Regions from separate parts of the Homo sapiens genome. Here region 2 is linked to region 1. Evidence: promoter capture Hi-C in 16 types of primary human blood cells and fetal thymus (Javierre and others, 2016). All regions are on one chromosome and are shown on one strand. The core of a region is centred on a gene start or on the middle of the fragment in contact, and the rest is flanking DNA. Distances in the headings are between cores, read along the strand shown. Region 1 holds the start of KLF16 (KLF transcription factor 16). Region 2 holds the start of MEX3D (mex-3 RNA binding family member D).

Region 1 (5,589 bases), core at 1,833-4,332:
GCCACGACTGGTGTTCCCTTTACAGAGAAGCACTCCAGGCAGGGGTGGGTGGGGGTGGAACTCGTTCTCAATGGCCCCCGGGACAGCCCTGCAGCCACCGGTGACTCGGGTTCGTCTGCGGATCTTTCCCGGCCTCCACTCCATTCAGGGACAGCCCTGCAATGGGGCTCCCTCCCAAAAAAACGCATGGCCTTCCTGTCCCCCAAAACCAGCTTAACGGCAGCCATTCCCTCCCTCCTCCGGGGGCTGAAAAACCAGACCACCTTCCACTAAAAGAGGCCGTTTACACAGACCCCTTGGTGGTCCTGGGGGCTGGGGAGGCCCGGAAGAGGAGCCTGGAAAGCCACAAGTATCCAAAACCCTTTGGAAACCGAATCCAAGGTGCCTGGGCCTGGGACTGCCCTCCCAGTCCCCAAATCGTTACTGTAAAGGGGGCTTTGGAATGGGACGTCAGCAGGCTCAAGGGGTGGGGGAGGGTGCCAGGAGATCCGCCCTGCCCTCCCCCACCACACAGGGTAGACGGTGGCGCGCCATCAGCACAACTGCATCCACCCCTGGGGATGCCCGACTGGGCACCCCCAGGCCTGTTTCTTACTGCAATCCCGGGATAACAATACTGCCTTCCCAGGACTCCAAACCCATCCCTCCCCTCCCTGCTGGCTTAGGGACCGCTGCCCCAATACCCGGGGGCCTATGGAAGCGCCTCTTGGGTGCCACTCAGGGAGGTGGCCATCCCGTCCACTTAACCCAGAAACTCAGAAAACCCAAATGGAGCTCTCAGGCCACGCCATCTGGCAAGAAAAGAATGACCTGGGTAGACAGGTGGGAGTCGCTTTCCCAACAGGCTCCCACTTCAGCCCCGTCTGTTCAGATCGCCCAACTTACCCCCAAAAAGCCAGGGCACTCCTGGACCCCTGCCCACCGCCCGGAGAGGCACCTCCCTTTCTGTTCCCAACGCTGCCTCGCCATCTTCACAGACCCCCAATGTCCCTCCCCGCGGAGATACACGGACCCCATTGCCCTCAAAAAGAGGTAACACCCTGGGACCCCTCCGCCGAGGATGTGTGGCTCCTCGCAGAAAACGCAGACCCCACCCAAGTCCTGTCTTGACGCCCTCGGTTCCCGTCTGTGTCTCAAGGTGGGCAGAGCCTCCAGGCCCCTGGGACCAGGACAGGGACTGAGCGAGGGGTGAAAAGAGTGCAGAACAGAGAGGGGGCGGCCGGCAGGCTACACACCACCGCCCCCACCCGCCCTCCTGCTCTCCACCCTCAGGCGTCCCAGCGCGGCTCCCCATACCCCAAAGATGGACCCTCAATTCTTCCGCAAGGCATTCGCGGCCCCTGCTCATCTCAGCCCCACCACTCTGGACGGCCCACTTCCCTTCGGCTGCTCCACGTGTCCCTACAATCCGAGCCCACGGACCAAGCCTCCTTGGAGTGTCCAGCTGCCCAAAGCGGCCACCGCTATGGCTATGAAATAGAGGCAGCATCGCACTCTTGATAGAAATGAGAAAATTGAGACCCAGATCGGGTAGAGGTCTTCTGTTTGGTGGCAAGGCCAGAATGCCAAGCCCAAGGGCAGCCGCACAGCTTTCCCCCAGCCCCCCACCCTCCCCGGAAGGGACAAGCACCTCTAATGCCCAAACCAGGGCCGGCCATCAAGGCCCACCGTCCCCTGTTGCCCAGTCCAAACTCCCAGTCCAGAAAGTGGAACCCTAGGAGGGGACGGAGTGAAAAAATACAGCCAGGCCCACCAGGCTCCCGGTTCCCCTCGCCGCCCCGGGGACTGCGCTAGGAGGGGCGTTGGTGTAGCCGAAGCGCTCCAACTACGCGCACCTTCCCGAATCGCCCGCCAGGTAGGGGTGAACAAACACGCCAGGGAAATACAGCAGTGTGGACCCGAGCCCCTCGAGGGTCCTCCAATACTATGAAGTTCCCCCGCCCAGACTCAGGCCCCAACCCGCGCTCCTAGCCTCGCCCTCCCCCTCGTTAAAATACAGAGAACGCAGAGAAAACGTGCCGGGCTCCCCCCATCCTGGCCCCACGCCAGGTGCTCTGCCGACCTCTGGGGAGAATCCGCGCGGCCACCCCGGCGGCGGCGACGCGGTTCCTCCTCCATTTTCACAGATAAGGAAACTGAGGCTGGGGGAGGGGGAGAACCCAGAACCCCAGAGCCGGATGCTCCAACCACGGTGCCCACCGCCCAGACCAGAACGCAAAAGAAAAAAAAAAAAACGGAACAAGGCCCAGAAAGGGAGAGAGGTGGTCTGCCCAGGAGTCTCAATCCCGCCCGCAGACCTCGCTGGGCCCCCGGAGCCCCCGCCACTGCCGCCGGGGCGGCCATCCGCTCGCCGCCCGACCGCGTGGCCGCCACGCCCCCCGCGCGCGCCCCACCCACCGAGGCCCCGCCCTGCCGGCCGGCGCGGCGGCGGCCCGGGCGCGCCCCCCTCCCCGCCCCCCACGCGCCACGCAGTTTCGGGGTCCTGGCGGGGGAGGGGTCTCAGGCGGCCGCCCCCGCAAGGGCCGGGATCGCGGCTGCACTCACCTGTGTGCGTCCGCAGGTGCGACTTTAGGTGCGAGGACTTGTAGTAGGCTTTGGCGCAGTCCGGGAAGGGACAGCGGTGGCTCTTGGCGGCGGCGGAGGGCGCGGCGCCGGGGGCGCGGCCCGAGGACGGGGACGAGGCGGCTGAGGAGGAGGAGGCGGGCGAGGCGCCCCCCGGGGCGGCTCCGGGTCCGCCGCGCAGGTCGGCCAGGATGCTGGCGGCCAGCAGGTGGGGCGCCGCGGCGGCGCCGGGGCCCGGGCCAGAAGCGGCGGGGGGCGGCGGGGGTGGCCCCGGGGTCCCGGGTGAGGCGGCCTCGCGGCGCGCCGCGCGCACATCCAGGCCGGCGGCGGGGCCCGCGCCCTCGGGGCCGGGCCGCCCGCGGTGCACCACGGCGCCCGAAGAGATGGCCATGAGCACGTCGGCGGCGAAGTAATCCACGCACGCCACGGCCGCCGACATGCCGAGCAAGGGCGCGCGGCGCGGCGGGCGGAGCGGAGGCGGCGGGAGCGGCGTCCGTCCGGCCGGCGGCGGCTGCTCGAGTGCGGGAGGCGGAGGAGGAGGAGGAGGAGGCCCGGCGCGCGCCGCCGCCGACGCCCGCGCTCGGCCTGCCCCGCCCCGCCTGACGCGTCCTGACGCACCGGAGCCCGCGGGGGCGGCCACAGCCCGCCCCGCCCGGAGGACGCCCCCTCGGGGCGCCGCAGCCACGCCCCCCGCCCGGCGCGCCCTCCACCACTCTCCGAGCCGCGCGCGGCCGCCGGGGGCGGGGCTCGGGCCGGAGGAACCCGCCCCCCGGCGCGCCCACTCCGGCCTCCGCCAGCGCCTAGCGTCTTAGGCCCGGAGCGCGCCTTCTCCGCGCTAGGGTGCAAGGCCGGGAGCCCCGCCCCCTCCCGGCGCGCCCCACTCCAGCGCGCGCCCCCGTACCCTTTCCCGGAGCACCACCCCCTCAAGCCGGGGCGGGAGGCCGAGGACCCCGCCCCCTCTCCGGCACGCCCCTCCTTCCGAGAGCGCGCCCCGCCCCATCCCGGCACGCCCCTCCCTCCCAGAGCGCGCCCCGCCTCCTCGCTGGCGCGCCCACCCCACGCCGGGGCGCGCGGCCGGCGGGAGCCCGCCCCCTCCCCGGATGCTTCCCTCCTGGCCCCGGGCGCGCCCCCGTTCGCGATGGAGGAGGGCTCCGATCCCCACGTGGCCGGGGTTGGAGGGGTGCGGAAGCGGCCGGCCCCGCCCCCAGGCCACGTGCGCGACCCTTCCCCCCTCTTCTCCCGGCCTGGGGCCCTGCTTTGACCCCGCACTCAGGCATCTGCTCGTCCTCTTCTCTGGGGTTCCCCCTCGCCGCTCACAGAGCCCCTCGGAGCCTCCCGGCCGAGACACCCGGTATCCCGCGCCCGCGGCGGGGCCCGGGAGGGTGGGGCAAGGCTGCGTTCGTTCCTCTTTTTGCACCCAGTTCCGGAGCTACTAGAGCGCGCCCCACTGGGGGTGGGGAGGGCCGGTTGGGTCCCAGAGGGTCGGGATAGGGGGACGGGAAGAGGGGGCCGAACGCAAAGGGCTGGGCTGGGCTGGGGGCGCCTGAGCGGGTCAGAGGTTCCCCGCCCTGCTGGGACACCGGGGTCCGGGGCTTCTCTTTCCATTCCCAGGCATCGATTCTTGGGGTTCGGACGGGAAAACTGAGGCCAGGTATTCGGGCCTCCCGGCCGCGAGGACGTCCAGGCCAACTTGTTAAATATTAGGGGGGACACCAGGGACGCGGATGGCCCAGTTCGCAGGCCCAAGGCGGCGGGGGCACAGAAACTGGGCGGCCCCCCTCGGTCGCGACCGCGCTCCCGCCCCTTCCCAGCTCCGGCGGGGCGGCGGGGACTGCGCAGTGGCCGGAGCTGCCTCCAGGGGGCGGAGCTGCTTTGGCCTGCGGCGACCTCCTGCTCTGGGTTGGGCATGGACAGAGGCCCTGACCCGATTCGGGGCTTCTCTAGCCCCATCCCCCGCCCACCTGCAACCCCAGCTGACGCCCTGAGGCTGACCACTGTTCCCTGGGTCGCCCGCACTGCGCCTGGGCTCAACCATGCTTGGTTAAGCCAGCTGAGCCCTCCCTGGGCCCCAGTAAGCCCACTCTACGTGGCTGGACAGAGCGGAGCCGAGAGAGAGGAGGTTCAGCGAAGTGTGGGAGGGTACAGGGTGCCCTGCACACACTTGCCCCTCTCCTAGGCCTGGGCTCCAGAGCCCTCTCTGCACCCCTACCATTCGGTGGGCGCTGGGGGTCGGCGTTCCTGCTCCTGCTGGGCCTCTGTTGTCTTTGAACTTCTAGGACGATGGGCCACTTGGGCAGGTCCCCCAGGTCCCCACCATCCCAGCAGCCCCCAGGGTCCTGGAACCCCGCATTGGCTTGTGGACAGGTGTGTCTTGAGGCCTCAGGGTCCACACCCAACCATGCGTCTTCCACTGATGTTTCCTGGGCTTAGAGCAGAACCAACCAGCCCTGCCCTCAAGGGGCTTACAGTTGTAACTGGGAGGCTAACGATGGGGGGCAGGGGTGAGCAGCCTCCAGGGGTGGGCCACATGGCCCCAGGCAGGACCTTCACTGTGAGACTCCATTGTCTGCCCACTCCAGCCATTATCAGGGTTTCAAGTGAGTGGCCTCATCTGCAGGTCATGCCAGCCACTCCACAGGCAGGAGACCCCAGGTGAGGGCACACAGCCCACACCCCACCCATGAGGCTTCTATTCACACCCCTAAGCCCCAGGAACACTCAGGCAACCCATGACCCCTGCGGTGAACACAGACAAACCTCCAGCAGCGCCCGGCACAGGGCTCTGTCCTCTCTTCCTTACTCTCTATGACCCTGTAAATTCTCCACCGGGTGCGGTGGCTCACGCCTGGAATGCCAGCACTTTGAGAGACCAGGGTAGGAGGATCACTTGAAGCTATCAGTTCAAGACCAGCCGGGGCAACGTAATGAAACCCCCAACTCTCCACATTAAAAAATGAGCTGCAGGCCGGGTGCAGTGGCTCACGCCTGTAATCCCAGCACTTTGGGAGGCCAAGGCTGGCAGATCAC
Region 2 (5,589 bases), core at 908-3,407, 300 kb before region 1:
GTCCCACCAAGGGCAGCCAGCAGGACTGAGACAGAACCCAGTCCCTCCCCACCCACCACTCCAGAGCATGCTTCCTGGGGCCAGCACCATGCCTGACCCTCCGTGGGTCCCCACATGAGCTGGACAAATGAACGACCAAAAGACAGGAGGCTGTGGTGCCCCACCCACCTGGACCGAGGGAAAGGGCGGAGGGGAGGGCGCCCTGGTGGTCCCCCGCCTGAGGCCAGGGCCATAGATGACCTTGCAATCCCAGCCCCCCACACCTTTCTCTGGCCTGGATTCCCGAGGGCCCCGGGGAGGCAGGGACCCCCAGCCCAAGTGTCCTGCGGCCCCACCACCAGCCCCGCCAAGGCCCCACCCCAAGTTCTAGAACCTGGCTGATCACTGGCGGTCAGCGGGGACCCAGGAGCGGGGAGGGGTGGCGGGAAGGCAGGAGAAAGTTGAGGGAGGCAGGCGGGCGGGTGGCTAACGGGGTGGTGGGTGTGAGCTGGGCCAGGCACTGCCCACCACCCGCCCGCCCGCCCCGCAGCTCGGGGGCCAATGAGCAGCGGCCGGCCTGATGTCACCCTGCAAATCTCAGCCTCGCTCTCTAACAAAGAGAACAATGGGGCGGCCAGAGGGAAGCTCCGACGATGCCACCGCTGGACCCCACACCCGGGGCCTGCCGCCCGCCGGCCTGCCCAGCAGGCTGCACCCCAGAAGTGGCTTTGACAGCCGGTCCTTCCCCAGGCCCCGAAATCCCTGACTCGGGGCCAGAGAGTGGAGCAGGGACCCTCTCCTGCCCGGTCCCGTCCCCACCCCAGTCAGGGCCCCAGGCTGGAGACTGAGACGTGCGCTCTTTGTACTGTCAGCCTTCTCTCCCGGTCCTGCAGGCGGCCCCCCTAAGCCACCCCTAAACCTGCGCTTGCCCCGCCCCGCCGCCTGTGCTGGGTGTGGGGCGCCCCCCGCCCGGCCGGAGCCCCGGGCCCTCGAGCCCCTCTCTGGGGTGCCCCTGCGGGCGGCCGAGGGCCTGGGCTGCGGCGCGGCTCCCCGGAGCCTTTCCGGGCTGGAGGCGGCCCAGACAAAGGCGGCGGCGGGGCCGGAGCGCGCAGGGGAGGAGCGCGGGCTGCGCCCAACTTTCTCCCGCGGCGGCTGCAGGACAAAGGCGCAAAGGCAGCGGCCGAGGCCGGAGCCCACGCGGGGCGTGTCCGGTGCGGGGCGTCCGGCGCGGGCTGGGCTGGGCTCGGGCGACCCCCTTCCCCGGGGCGGACGGTGCGGGGACCCCCAGGACAGCAACCCCCGACGAGGGCCACTCACCCTGGCGACCCACGATCTCGGCGACGTGCTCGGAGCTGGGCACCGGGACGCACTCGGTCATGTTGACGCTTTTCTTGCGGCTGCCGATCACGCTCATCTGGTCGGCCAGCAGCGTCGGGGGCCCCAGGGCCGCGGGGTGGGGCGCGAAGCCCGCGAACACGTCGGGGGGCGACGGCCGGGGCGGCGGCGGCGGCGGGGGACTCGCGTTGGGGTCCAGCAGCGGCAGCGACCCGGGGGCCACGGCGGGGGCCAGGGTCGGGGGCGCGCCGGCCTCAGGTCCGTCGGGGGGCACAGGCTCCGGAGCCGCCCCGCCGTCCGCGCCCCCCGCCGCCGCTGCGCCGTCCCCGGCCGCCCCCTCCTCGTCCGTGTCGCCAGCGCCCCCCAGCCCGAGCGCCGACAGCTGGTCCAGCGCCAGGCGGAGCGCGGCGGCCGCGTCGTCGGGTTCGGGCGGCGGCCGGGGCGCGGGCGCGGCCTCCTGGGCGCCCTCGGGCGGGGGCGCAGGTCCGGGTCCGGGGTCCTCCCCCGCCGCCCCCACGCCGCCGCCGCCGCCGCCCCCGCCCCCGCCGCCGTCGGGCTGGCCGAGCGAGCTGGGCATGGCGGGAGCTAGCGCTGGGGCCCGCGCTCCTGCCGCCCGCGCCGCCGCCGCCGCCCGCGCCGCCCTCCGCCTCTGCGAGCTGGGCCGCCGGCCGCCTGCATCCAGCGGCGGGGGCGGGCACGGGGGGCCGGGCGGGCGGGGCGGCGGCGGCGCGGGGCTGCTCGGGGCCGGGCCGGGCCGGGCCGGGCGGCGGCAGCGACTCTGGCTGCGGCTCGGCGGCGGCGGCGACGGCGGCGGCGGCTCCTCGGCGGCCGAGGCGGCGGCGGCGGCGCGGGACGCTCCTTCCCTCCCGCCGCCTCCCGCGGCCCCGCCCCGGCCCCGCCCCCGCGACGTCACGCCGCGGCCCAACAATGGGCGGCCCCCAGGGCGCAGGCGCGCGGGGCGGGGCCGGGGCGGGGCCGGCGCCGGGCACGTGGTCCAGGCCCCGCCTCCGCCCGGCGCTCGGGCGGGAACCCGGGCGCATCCGCACGTGCGGGCGCTGCTGCAGGTGTGTGCGGCTCAGCCCCTGCCTGGACAGCGCTCCCTCCCCAAGCCTGAGAGTCCCTGCCTCGCGCGCCCCAGGGCCCGAGGTCCCGCTCCCCAATTTCCCCTAGAGATCCGGGTCGCCCCCAAGCGAGGTCTCTTGCTCCACGCCCGCTTCCTTGTGCCAGGGACCCCCACCTCCCTGCATAAAGGCGTGGGGTCCTCTCCAAGTCCCCCTCGCGATCCCACTGGACTTCGAAGTCAGGCTCCTGCCCGCCCACCGCCTCTGTGCCAGGGTCCAACCCCCGCCCCACGGTGCACCCCCCAGGGCCTGGGGTCCCAGTCCCCAAGTACCCCTTGCTATCAGGTGGGCTTTAGGGTCAGGCCCCTGCCCCACCCCCAGCCTCTGTGCCAGGGACAGCTCCACAATCATGCACACCCCAGGGCCTGAGGTCCCTCTCCCCTAGTCTCTCCTAGCTCCCCTCTGGCTGGCTCCCGGCTTTGGGATCAGGCCACCTCCTCCACGCCACCTCCTCCGCCCCACCCAAGGCCACAGACCCGGTCTCTGTGCCCCCAGCCAGAGACCTCTCTACCACAGTGGTGCTTCCATGGCGAGGGCAGGCTCACACCAGCCAGAACCCTCCATGTGGAGCCCCACCCTCTTCTGGGGTGCCTTTCCCCGCAACGGGCGTTGTCCACCTCTAAAGCCACCCTTGCCGGGCGCGGTGGCTCATGCCTGTCATCCCAGCAGTTTGGGAGGCCGAGGCGGGTGGATCACGAGGTCAGGAGTTAGAGACCAGCCTGGCCAACATGGTGAAACCCCCGACTCTACTAAAAATACAAAAATTAGCCAGGCGTGGTGGCGCGCACCTGTAATCCCAGCTACTCAGGAAGCTGAGGCAGGATAATTGCTTGAACCCTGGAGGTGGTGGTTGCAGTGAGTCGAGATTGCACCACTGCACTCCAGCCTGGTTGACAGAGCAAGACTCCTCTCAAAAAAAAAAAAAAAAAAAAAAAATAGCCGCTTTCCCAGCGGCTCTTCCTCCAGCTGTCCTTCGGGGCCTTCCTTGCACCTGTGGGGTTTTTTGTGATAAACCTGTCTGGCTGGGTCTACCTGCCCCCCTCTTCTACCAGACCTGTCCCTGGCTGGCTGTGCAAACTTGGACCGAAGGCAGGGCTCTCTGGGCAGGAGTGGGGCAGCCTGCCCCTTTGCCTAGCAAGGCTTCTCCTCTGTCCCCTCCCCCCGCCTCACACACCCTGGGTCCCCCTCAGCCACTCTTCTAGTCCCTCAGCCACAGCCACCCACTGCTGGGCCCTTCACTTTTGGTGGCTTCTCTGCCCACTTCTTCCAGGCAGGCAGGGTCAGGATCCCCCTGCCTGGAGCCCTTCCCCACCCAAAATCTCTCTCCTGACCCCAGGCTGCATCCAGCCCCACTTCCCCTCCTGGGGTCCTGGACTTCTCTTTCGTGCACGCCCATGCTTGGAATTGTTTTTCTATCTCTCTTTCTTTCTCTCTTTCTTTTTTTCTCTTTCTTTCCTTTTTTTCTTTCTTTCTTCCTTTCTTTCTTTTCTTTTTCTTTCTTTCTCTTTCCTTTCTTTCTCTTTTTTCTTTTCCTTTTCTTTCTTTCCTTTTTTTCTTTCTCTTCCTTTTCTTTTTTCTGTCTTTCTTTCCTTCTTTCTTTTCTTTCTTCTCCTTCCTTCCTTGCTTCCTTCCTTTTCTTTCATCCTTTATTTCGTTCTTCATTTCTTCTTTTCTCTCCCTTCCTTCCTTCCTTCCTTCTTTCTTTCTTTTTTTTTTTTTAGACGGAGTCTCGCTCTGTCACCCAGGTTGGAGTGCAGTGGTGCAGTCTTGGCTCACTGCAAGCTCCGCCTCTGGGTTCACGCCATTCTCCTGTCTCAGCCTCCCGAGTGGCTGGGACTACAGGTGCCTGACGCCACACCCAGCTAATTTTTTGTATTTTTTGTAGAGACAGGGTTTCACCGTATCAACCAGGATTCTCCCTTCCTTCTCTGCTCCCCTCCCCTCTCCTCTCCTTTCCTTTTCTTTCTTTTTCGGACAGAGTCTTGCTCTGTTGCCCAGGCTGGGGTGCAGTGGCTATTCACAGGTGTGACCCCAGGACAGATCAGCATGAGAGCTTTGACCAGCTCCGTCTCTGACTTGGGTAGGTTCAGCCCTCCTTAGGCAACCTGGTGGTCCTCCCAGTCCAGGGAGGTCATCATATTAATGTAGACGCTGGATCAGCATAGCTCACTACAGCTCAGAACTCCCGAGCTCAAGCAATCCTCCCGCCTCAGCCTCCTGAGTAGCTGGGACCACAGGTGTGCACCACCACACCGGGCTACTTTTTGTATTTGTAGAGACAGGGTCCTTTTTGTTGCCCGGGCTAGTCTTGAACTCCTAACCTCAAGCAATCCTCCTGCCTCAGCCTCCCAAACTGCTGGGACTACAGGTGGGTAACACTATGCCCAGCCACTTGCAATTATTAATGGCATTGTCAGCCGGGCGCCGGGCGCGGTGGCTCACGCCTGTCTTCCCAGCACTTTGGAAGTCCAAGGCAGGTAGATCACCTTAGGTTAGGAGTTCTATATCAACCTGGCCAACACGGTGAAACCCTGTCTCTACTAAAAATATGAAATGAGCCGGGTGTGGTGGCGTGAGCCTGTAGTGCCAGCTGCTTGGGAGGCTGAGGCAGGAGAATCGCTTGAACCCGGGAGGTGGAGGTTGCAGCAAGTTGAGATCACACCACTGCACTCCAGCCTGGGCAACAGAGCAAGACTCTGTCTCAAAAACAAACAAACAAACAAAGAAAAAACCCTGTGTCTAATAAACAAATGAATTTATGAATGAATGAAGCAATGAATATTTAATTCTTTCCCAGTTTTGGAGCCTCAGAGTCAAAACTCAAGGTGTGCGCAGGGCCGCGCCCCCTTCAAAGGCTCTGGGGAGCGTCCTTTCTGCCTCTTCCATCTTCTGGGGGCTCTGGGCCTCATCGCTCATTGTGGCCTCATCGCTCATTGTGGCCTCATCGCTCATTGTGGCCGCATCGCTCTGACCTCGGCCTCTGTCTTCACACACCCATGTCTCCCTGTATGTGTCCTGGTTTCCCTCTTCTCATGGGAACAGGAGTCACGGGATGAGAGTCCACCCCCTCCCGTACAACTTTGGCTTAACTTGTCTGCAGAGACCCTCTTTCCAAACAAGGTCCCATTCAGAAGTTGTGGGGTTGAGGACACAG

What was found. The method cuts DNA at HindIII sites, captures the fragments that hold promoters and counts their contacts. A CHiCAGO score of 5 or more calls a contact.
Region 2: the fragment with the promoter of MEX3D here is called in contact with the fragment with the promoter of KLF16 in region 1 in 3 of 17 cell types (endothelial precursors, total B cells and naive CD4 T cells); the score reaches 5.9 in endothelial precursors.

Annotation. Positions count from the first base shown.
Region 1 is chr19:1,860,497-1,866,085 of GRCh38, forward strand. It overlaps KLF16 (KLF transcription factor 16), which reads right to left and starts at 3,083. Exons shown (of 2, transcript NM_031918.4): 1 at 2,545-3,083. The coding sequence starts at 3,001. RefSeq lists enhancers at 626-1,511, 4,619-5,173, silencers at 2,326-2,495, 2,546-2,725, 3,056-4,155, 4,226-4,445 and a promoter at 2,972-4,176. The HindIII fragment of the contact is 13,147 bases long and covers 1-5,589 here.
Region 2 is chr19:1,566,168-1,571,756 of GRCh38, forward strand. MEX3D (mex-3 RNA binding family member D) reads right to left here and starts at 2,158. Exons shown (of 2, transcript NM_203304.4): 1 at 1,297-2,158. The coding sequence starts at 1,891. It also overlaps the pseudogene RN7SL477P. RefSeq lists silencers at 2,158-2,347, 2,388-2,437. The HindIII fragment of the contact is 12,069 bases long and covers 1-5,589 here.